Linked DNA regions of Homo sapiens: region 2 is linked to region 1. Evidence: promoter capture Hi-C in human tissues and cell types (Jung and others, 2019). All regions are on one chromosome and are shown on one strand. Each heading gives the region's core, a stretch centred on a gene start or on the middle of the fragment in contact. The rest is flanking DNA. Distances are from core to core; before and after follow the strand shown.

Region 1 (4,816 bases), core at 1,073-3,572:
CCAAACTGTTGGGATTACAGATGTGAGCCACCACACCCAGCCTCGATGAAAGTATTTTAGATGTTTGTATTTATACATAAGGCTCTATGTTTGAAGTACTAAATGGTGAGAGTATTTTGTATCTCAGATGGAATAACGATAGGAAAATGTTCTTCAGCAAATTGTACTCTCCTAAAGGGAGAGATTATAGAGTGATGAACACAGACACGCCATCTACCTTTCCTCCAGACTTTGTAAAAAAAAATTATATAAATTACAATCCCAAACTAGAATCAGATACCATCCCTGATCTACTACCAAGATCTATACACATTAAGAGAACAATGTTCGGGATTGAACCTGTTTTGCCTTTTTAATCGGAACACAAAAGGGATACCTTTTTCTTTCTCCAAGTTTTTGAAATTTTGGTCTCCCTCCTACATTCACTCCTTGTTGAAAGTAATGGAAAGGCAATTAGGTCTGTGTCCCAAATGAAAGCCCACAGTCAGGAGGGGATTCTCATTGAGGTGACTGTCCTGTTAAGACCTGCTCCTGTGAACCCCCAAGCACAGGGCAGAGCAGGACATGAACTAAGAGCCAGGCTTTGCCGAATCCGGGTCGAGTTCACCGACAGCAGTGTGTGCAGCACGCTTCCTCCTCTGCACCCTGGCAGTAGAGCCCTTCCTCATTGTAAAGCCAAGTGGTGTCTGCAGTCCGCCTTGCCCAGGGCTGGAGGCAGAGCTGAGCTTGGTGAACAGGTGCCAGGGGATTCCTGTCATCAGTGGACTATGCTTTAGAAGCTGCTTGTTGCAAAGGTACTGGTTGATCATTGTCTGAGAGTTGGATCTGAAGGCCAACACCCACTAGCAAAACCATCATCCCTGTAATAACAGCAACCCAAGCAGATTTGATTTCTCCAGTGAAGGTTCTAGATGAGTCTAATCAAGGCTTCCCACCCATCTTCTCCCAACACCAGAGTTTCCCTGTGAAAACGATCATGGTTAACTCGCACTGAATACTATTTATGTGCCAAGTACCATTCCACATTCTTTACATATTTTAGCTCACTTTACTCCAACGGGGACCATTATTCCCAGTTTGCACATAAGCAAATGGAGCCAGGGAAAGCAAGGGGCAGAACAGGGAACTGATTTCCCGGAGTTTCGGCCCAGAGTCAGTGTGCTTAGCCACCGCCAACACCAGCCCCAGAGCTCTAGGCTCCTGGAAGTCGTGCTCCCGAGTCCTTCCCCTTGCACAGTGGAGAGAACTCGATGTTGGAATGAAACCAGCTAATTCCAGTAGGGTGCTTCCGCTGTTGTGAGGAGCTGGGCAACTAGTAAGCTCACTGAGCCTCACTGTGCTCCACTATAAAACCAGGAGAGTGCGCAGCAGAGGAGAGGGTCTGGGTTTCAGAATAAGAAGCAGGTTTTCTTCCTGCTCAGCAAATCCTGGGTAATTGTATCATATCCCCTAACCCCTTAAACCTCAGCTAGAGAGGGCGCCAGTCTTAGCCCCAGGGAAGGCTTTCGTGTGCACATTGGAGACAAAGCCTGCCCAGCAGTGCCCGGCACAGAACTGGGGAGCTGTTGGGATAAGCATGGGGGTGGACTCTCCCTGGGACAGATCCTATCTCACAGCAGTTTGGAGAACTGTTGTATACACACGCAGGTGACACGAGGCAGAGCAGGATGTGAAACGAGCGCAGTGGTTTGCCAAACCCGCAGCAGGCTTAGGACGGAGTGGTGAGAACAGCCCCCTTCCTTTTCCTCAGCTTGACGGTCCCAGCCTTTCCCATTGCGGACCTAGAGCCCAGACTCCCAGGGCAGAAAGCGCCCCACAGACTGATAAAGGTGAACAATCCAGGCTTTGTTTCCAAGGGCTTTATCCCTGACTTTCCAACTGGCTTTTATCTGTGTCTTCACGTCTCTGACCTCTTGAGCCTCACAGGAGCTAGACTAGAAGGTTCAAGTTCTTGAGGAGAAGGCAGGGGCGGGAGAGCCCCACTTGCGGGAATCTCGTGCGGACCGAGTCGGGGCGGGAGAGGGCGCGCACCAGCCAGGCTAGGGCGCGCGGGGCGCCGAGGGGCGCGGGGCCGTTTGGGGCCGTTCGGGCCAGTTCGCGCGGCGGGGCCCGTCGGAGCTTTTCTCTCGGCAGCCTGGCTGGCCGCGCGTCTTCTCCGCGCAGCGGGCGAAGTCGCGATGGGTTCATTAAGGCGGCAGGTAGGCAGTGCCCCGGCGGCGGCTGCGGCAGGCGGTCCTGGAATGTGCGAGGGGCGTGATGACAGCGGCCAGCCTCTTTGCGCAACACCTTCGCCATATATACCCGGGGCGCTGCGCTCCACCTGGCCGCCGCCTCCAGCCCAGCACCTGCGGAGGGAGCGCTGGTGAGTACCGCCGCCGGGGCAGGGGCGCTTCCTCGCTCTTTCAAGGACTTTGATTCACTTAATTCTTGCAAATACCTCTCGGTGCTGACTTCAAGGAACTTGGCTGGCTTTGGGCCGCAGAAGTGAAAAACACAAAGCTCTCCACAATGTTCAAGTTGTTTTCTTCTTAATGTTACGGTTATTGCTTTTATTACAGCTTTTGCTGCTACACTCTTACGATCGACAGTGTTATTAATCAGCCACACTTGTGGATTCTAAAATGATCACTGTTTTGAGAGTCGTGGTTTGGAAGAGGAAAGGCCCAGGGGATAGAAATCTCCACCTAGGAATCAGGATAGCTAGGCTCTTTGTGGCTGGGTCACCAACTAGCCATGTGACAACGCTAGTCCCTGTGAGCCCCTGGGCTGCCGTCTTCCATTCTTTATAAGAAGGGGAATGCGACATCTCAGGACCATGAAAATTCTAGGTTTGTGGTGGCTGCCTGGTGATGTGACACTGCCCCCCACCCAAGTGTGACTTCCACGTGGTACAGTGCTTGTTTGCAGTTATTTAAGGTGCCTAGGAGACAGTCTTAGTTTGTTTCTATTAGGGCCCGTGGCCATCAGCGAAGGGTCCGTCCTTCAGCCGTCTTGGGGAGCAAAGCCCGCAATTTATGTTTTCCAAGCCACAAATGGGTGAGCAGGCTGGGGAGATAACTTACAAGGAGATGTGCACAGGAGTGGTTGGGTTCGGGGACTGCGCATCCTCAGGCCAGAAAGTTGGGGGCTGCATGGCATGGAGTTAGTTCAGGTTCCCTGCAACGGTGCCTGCCACCGGTGGCTCGCACTGCGCTGAAGAGAGTTGGAATCTCGTTTTCTTTGAGGAGGTCCCTTTTTCAAACATGTTGATTTCATGGAAGCAGCTTGTGGATTTCATCACTCGAGTCCCCTCTTCCTGTTTGGGTGCCCCAGGGGGTTTCTGTGTTAGCCCTGATCGCTCTGGGCCTTGTCGTTCTTTCCTTTTTCCTTCTTCCCTTGTGTGCTGGCAGTTCTTTAACTTGTCCTGGGTTGGGTATTCTTGGAAAACTGTGCTTGTAGGAGTGGCCGTTGTTTCAGATTGTTAAAGAAAAACAAAAATAAAAAAGATTGCCTCTTTTGTCCCATGCCCGCTGATCATGATCTTCTCTGCTTTTGTAATTTGGGGAATGGGTGATAAGAAAGGCGTGCTTTGTAAAAGGTTTGGATGCTAAACAAATTGCCCCATCCAAAACTCCCCAAATTGCTCAACTGTCTCAATGAAGCAAGTCCCCTGTGGTATGAGGATGGGCTTCTGATTGTTGCTGTTAGACACAAAGGGGACAAAAAAATAGCCCGAATTCAATGCAATGAGGAAAACAGCCTCACAGAATCAGAGTGCTTTGGAATAAACTGGGCTTTAGTAACCAGTTTCAGGCATCTTCCACTCCTCCATCCTCACCCACACCCCCACTTCCATTCTGGGGACCGCAGGGAGCAATCAGGACATCCCAGGGAATTTATTCATCTCAGTGAATTTTTAAAATGCAAAGGTACAAAAAGAGGGCTATAAAAAGATTGCGGTATTTTTAAGATGTTTATATTTACAAATTTAACTGCTTTAACCTCCCCCCCCAATACAATGCAGCACAACTGATATAGTTACAAGTTATTTACAGGATTTATTTTAAGATATCATAAATACAAATTGATAGTGCATGGTGAGGGTGTGGTTTGGTGATATGGCCCAAGTTTAAAGTTTATTAGTGTGCCACATCAAAAATGTAAACTCAAGTTATCTATCAATGTGAGGCCCAGGCCAATTGCTTCCTTGACTCCTCTCATCACTACCACCATTGTGTCCTTGAAGAGATTATTATTAGCAGTAATGTAGGGACAGGGTCTCACTATGTTGTCTAAGCTGGTCTCAAACTCACAGGTTCAAGGGACTCTCCCACTTTGGCCTCCCAAAGTGCTGGGATTATAGGTGTGAGCCACCACCCTTAGCCTATAGGGGTGATTATTTTTCCTTGTGATGGCTGTAAGGGAAGCAGAGGAAAAGGAGACGTCACCCTCTTGGGAATTTTTGAAGCACAGAGTCATTCTTTCAAAGTACAAGAAAGTTTTCCTGGGCATCCCGAGAACACTGGCCTGCATGAGGTTGAAATTATCTCTGCAGTGTTGTGGTGCCTATGTGATTTGAAGCCATTAACCTCTCTGTGGCTCAGTTTTTCCCTCTATAGAATGAGGATACTGTTCATTTTAAAGGAGACTCTAAGTTTACATAGATACATGAAATGCTGTGAGTAAATTTGTGCACCAATTTGCAAGTGCCAGGCACAAAGTCTTTAATAAACACTACTTGGCTACCATGTGCCCAGCACTGTCCTATGTGCTGGGGATACAATGGCCATACTCTAGTCCCTGTGCTTGTGAAGGCTGCCATTCTGATGGGAGACTG
Region 2 (4,626 bases), core at 673-3,172, 39 kb after region 1:
CCTGTAATCCCAGCTACTCAGGAGGCTGAGGCAGGAGAATTGTTTGAACCTGGGAGGTGGAGGTTGCAGTGAGCTGAGATTGCGCCACTGCACTCCAGCCTGGGCGACAAGAGCGAAACTCCATCTCAAAAAAAAATAAAAAATAAAAATAAATAAAGCTTTTCTATACTCGTAGATCACTTTAATTATACAGTTGACCTTGAACAACACAAGTTTGAACTTCAAGGGTTCACTTACACGCAGATTTTCTTCCACCTCTGACACCCCTGAGACAACAAGACCAACCCTTCCAGGGCTGGGCATGGTGTCTCATGCCTGTAACTCCAGCACTGTGGGAGGCTGAGGCAGGAGGATTGCTTGACCCCAGGAGTTTGAGACCAAACTGGACAACATAGCAAGACTCCAATCTCTACAAAAAATTAAAAATTAATTGGGTGTAGTGGCTCATGTCTGTAATCTCAACTACTTGGGAGGCTGAGGTGGAAGAGTTGCTTGAACACAGGAGTTCGAGACCAGTCTAGGCAACATAGTGAGACCCTTTCTCTATAAAAAATTTAAAAATAACTAGAATTAATGAAAAGAGTGTTGGATTAAAAACAGTGACAAAATAGATAACATTTTACTTGTATAGGAAAGAAAAAAAAGTGAAAAATCTCAAATGCCAAATATTAGATATACAAAAATAGCCCACATTTACCAAATATTTCCTCTTTGCCAGGCACTGAACTAAGTACTTGTCTTGCCCTAGCTCACCTCCTAGTTCAGTGTCCTTATGTGGTCCGAGTATTATTATCTCTGTTTTACATTTTCCATTTCAGGAAGCCAGGCACAGAGAAGCTGCAATAACTTGTCTAACCAAGCTCATCATAAGAGTGAGTGGTAAACTGAGATTTTAACCCAGATCCTCTGGATTTAGATCTTGCCATTTTAAATCTATACACTGCAGGGAGTAGTAGCTAAAATTACACATACAGGCCAGGCATGGTGCCTCACGCCTGTAATCCCAGCACTTTGGGAGGCTGAGGCGGGTGGATCACCTGAGGTTAGGAGTTCCAGAGTAGCCTGACCAACATGGTGAAACCTCATCTCTACTAAAAATACAAAATTAGCCAGGCGTGGTGATGTGCACCTGTAATCCCAGCTACTTGGGAGGCTGAGGCCGGAGAATCGCTTGAATCCGGGAAGTGGAGGTTGCAGTGAGCTGAGATAGCACCACTGCACTCCAGGCTGGGCAGTAACAGCATACAGATGGGCCGGGCATGGTAGCTCACGCCTGTAATACCAGCACTTTGGGAGGCTGAGGCGGGCTGATCACTTGAGTCCAGGAGATAGAGACCAGCCTGGGCAACATGGCAAAATCCCATCTCTATAAAAAAAACACAAAAATTAGCCGGGCATGGTGGTGTGCACCTATAGTCCCAGCTACTTGGGAGGCTGAGGCAGGAGAATCTCCTGAGCCCAGGAGGTGGAGGCTGCAGTGAGTCGAAATTAGCCAGGTGTGGTGGTGGGCACGTGTAATCCCAGCTCCTCGGGAGGCTGAGGCAGGAGAATTGTTTGAACCACGGAGGCAGAGGTTGCAGTGAGCTGAGATTGCACCATTGCACTCCAGCCTAGGCAACCAGAGCAAAACTCCGTCTCAAAAAAAAAAAAAAAAAAGGTGGGTTCACTTCATTATGAACTTGTCCAAACCCACAGAATGTACAACACCAAGAGTGAACCTGATGTCAGCTATGCTCTTTGGGTGATAATGATGTGTCAGGTAGGCTCGTGGATTGTAACAAGCATGACTCCCAGGAAGCATGTCAACTCGGAAGCTGGATTTTGCTCAGAAGTCTCCTCTGCTCAGGGGAAACACATCATCTCCTTGTATCTTATCTCAGTAATCAGGGGCATGCTTCTAGGAATCCAAAGAAACATCCCAAGTGATAGTGTGTACTCAGGACAGGAAGTTCCTGTGGTTTGGGGCTGCTGAGGTCAGAGCCTGGAAAGGGAAAGTGTACTAGAGGTTAAAGAACATTTGCTTCCCAGGTCTGCAGAGCAGGTCATTTTCTTATCATTCCCTGTCCTTCCCTCTCTATCTCCCGCCTTCCTACCCTCTCCTGCCCCACCCTCCAACACATCTCTGGGGCCTTTCTGGCCTCCTGTCAGTTTGATCCTACACTGCTTTTCTCTTAGCATGAAGGCAAGACTCATTATCAGTGCTCTCTCCTGTGAAATATAGAAGAAGAATAATCATATTTTCTACAGAAGGGTGTTGGAAGAATTAAATAGAAATGCTTGTGTGGCTGGGAGCGGTGTTCACACCTGTAATCTCAGCACTTTGGGAGGCTGAGGTGGGAGGAATGCTTGAGCTCAGGAGTTCGAGACTAGCCTGGGTAACATAGGAGACACCATCTCTACAAAAAATTAAAAAAAAATCAATCAGGTGTGTGGCTCATAGCTGCAGTCCCAACTACTGGGGAGGCTCAGGTGGGAGGATCACTTGAGCCCATGAGGTCTAAGGCTACAGTGAGCTGTGATCACACCACTGCACTCCAGCCTGGGTGACAGAGCAAAACCCTGCCTTAAAAAAAATAATAAAATAAAATAGATAAATAAATAAAGGCCGGGCACAGTGGCCCACGCCTGTAATCCCAGCACTTTGGGAGGCCAAGGCGGGCAGATCACCTGAGGTCAGAAGTTCAAGACCAGCCTGGCAACATGGCAAAACCCTGTCTCCACTAAAAATACAAAAATTAGCCGGTCGTGGTGCCGCGTTCCTGTAGTTTCAGCTACTCAGGGAGGCTGAGGCAGGAGAATCGCTTGAACCTGGGAGGCAGAGGTTGCAGTGAGTTGAGATTGTGCCATGCACTCCAGCCTGGGCGACAGAGCAAGACTCTATCTCAAAAAAAAAAAAAAAAATGCTTGTGAAACTGCTTTGTAAATTGTGCACAGACAAGCCACTGGTCCCTCCCCCTTGCAGTCATTCATTCTTTCTACAGAATCCTAGTAAGTGTGACTGTGTGCCAGCAAGTACTCTAAGCACTAGGAATCCCACAAGGCATGAGATATACTGACAATTAAGCACATTCTAGTGAGGAAGACAGAGAAGTAGACAGTTCCCAGGGCGTAAGTTTTGCTAGGAGACTGGGCAGAAGAAGCCACCCCAACTGCAGATCCTATTTATACCCGCCACTTAATGGTTCTGTATGTTTAGGAAAGTTATTTCACCTTTCTGACCCTTGGGTTTCTATCTCAACAATGTGAACAAGATCTCTATTTCACAAGGTTATTGTGAGGATTAAATGAGATTTCCCTAAATCTCAGGTATTAGCATTCTCCCTTAGAATGCTTGCTCTATCTCCCTGCAGCCTCTACAATTGATTAACATTGCCACCTACTTTTGCTTCATCTTGGGTAATAATATTTGTGAATCATGGAGTTAGTGTTCAAGTCCTCTTGTTTTCCTAATAAACAGTAAAGCAAATGCTTAGCTGTTAGCATTTTAACAGTTCAATAGGGTCCCACCTAGAAATAGCTCATGTGCCCCAAGGTTATAAGTACTGAGATCCATAATTAAAGCATGATCACATTGTATTGCTTGGTGTTGGTAAGGCTTAAATATACACAATTTTATTGATTCTAAGAAGTAAGAATGGAGTAGATGACAGGACCCAATGCATAGAAGGAGGATGAGGGGAGGGAAGAAAGAAAGCCTTCCATCGGGGGTTGGGAGGTGGCTTCGGAGCTTAGCCCTGGAGCCTGCAGATCACCTGGCAGGTAGAAAGGGGTTGAGGACTGAAATGGGTGAAAAGGAAGTGCTTTCTAAGAAAAGAACAAAGATCAACTGGGCTCGGTGGCTCACGCCTGTAATCCCAGCACTTTGGGTGAAGGATGAGCCTGGGGCTATAGATAAGCTGAGGTCAGATAAAGAAAGGCTTGCATGCTCTCTGGGGAGTTTGGACTTGATCCTGATGGATATGGTGAAATTCAGCAGGTGTTTGAGGCCTGAATGTCACGTGTTCCAGTTATAGCCTAAGAAGATCTCAGGAAAATTATTTAGAGTGGGTCAGCACAAGAGGTACACAAGGATGCATGTACCAAGGTTTCGAGCCTGATGCATTTGTAAAAATACCTCTTGTGCTTCTGATTCTCACTTCTTTGTGTTTTCGCTCCTTGTTCTTTAATAGAGTCTTCCAAATAAATCAGTCCGTATGGAGGTATACATTTATTTCAGTAGAAATAAGCACTATGTTTCTGATATAAGCCTCTTATCAGAAAGATAGAGGCTTTCTGATAAGCCAGAGCTCTTTGAGAAATCGGAGGCTGATGAAAGTCAGAAACCTGAGATCTGTCTTCAGTTCCTTCCGCTGCCCACCCTCCTGGGGAAGACCAGGGTTGACAGGCCTATCAACTACACCTCTCTTTTTTTAAATTTTTTTCTATTTTGAGGTGGAGTCTCACTCTGTCACCCAGGCTGGAGTGCAGTGGCGCGATCTCGGCTCACTGCAATCTCCGCCTCCCAGGTTCAAGCGATTCTCCTGCCTCAGCCTCCCAAGTAGCTGAGATTAGAGGTATACACTACCACGCCTGGCTAATTTTTGTGTTTTTATTAGAGATGGGGTTTCACCATGTTGGCCAGGCTGA

Evidence for each region. Contacts are between HindIII fragments. The study calls those that stand out against the background at their distance.
Region 2: a fragment that was not itself captured here is called in contact with the fragment with the promoter of SLC34A2 in region 1 in 2 of the 25 tissues and cell types used here (aorta and pancreas).

Annotation. Positions count from the first base shown.
Region 1 is chr4:25,653,529-25,658,344 of GRCh38, forward strand. SLC34A2 (solute carrier family 34 member 2) reads left to right here and starts at 2,323. Exons shown (of 13, transcript NM_006424.3): 1 at 2,323-2,362. RefSeq lists an enhancer at 1,773-2,686. The HindIII fragment of the contact is 21,396 bases long and covers 1-4,816 here.
Region 2 is chr4:25,692,704-25,697,329 of GRCh38, forward strand. No RefSeq gene overlaps it. Among named protein-coding and RNA genes, the nearest start is that of SLC34A2, 39 kb to the left of the region's middle. The HindIII fragment of the contact is 9,413 bases long and covers 1-4,626 here.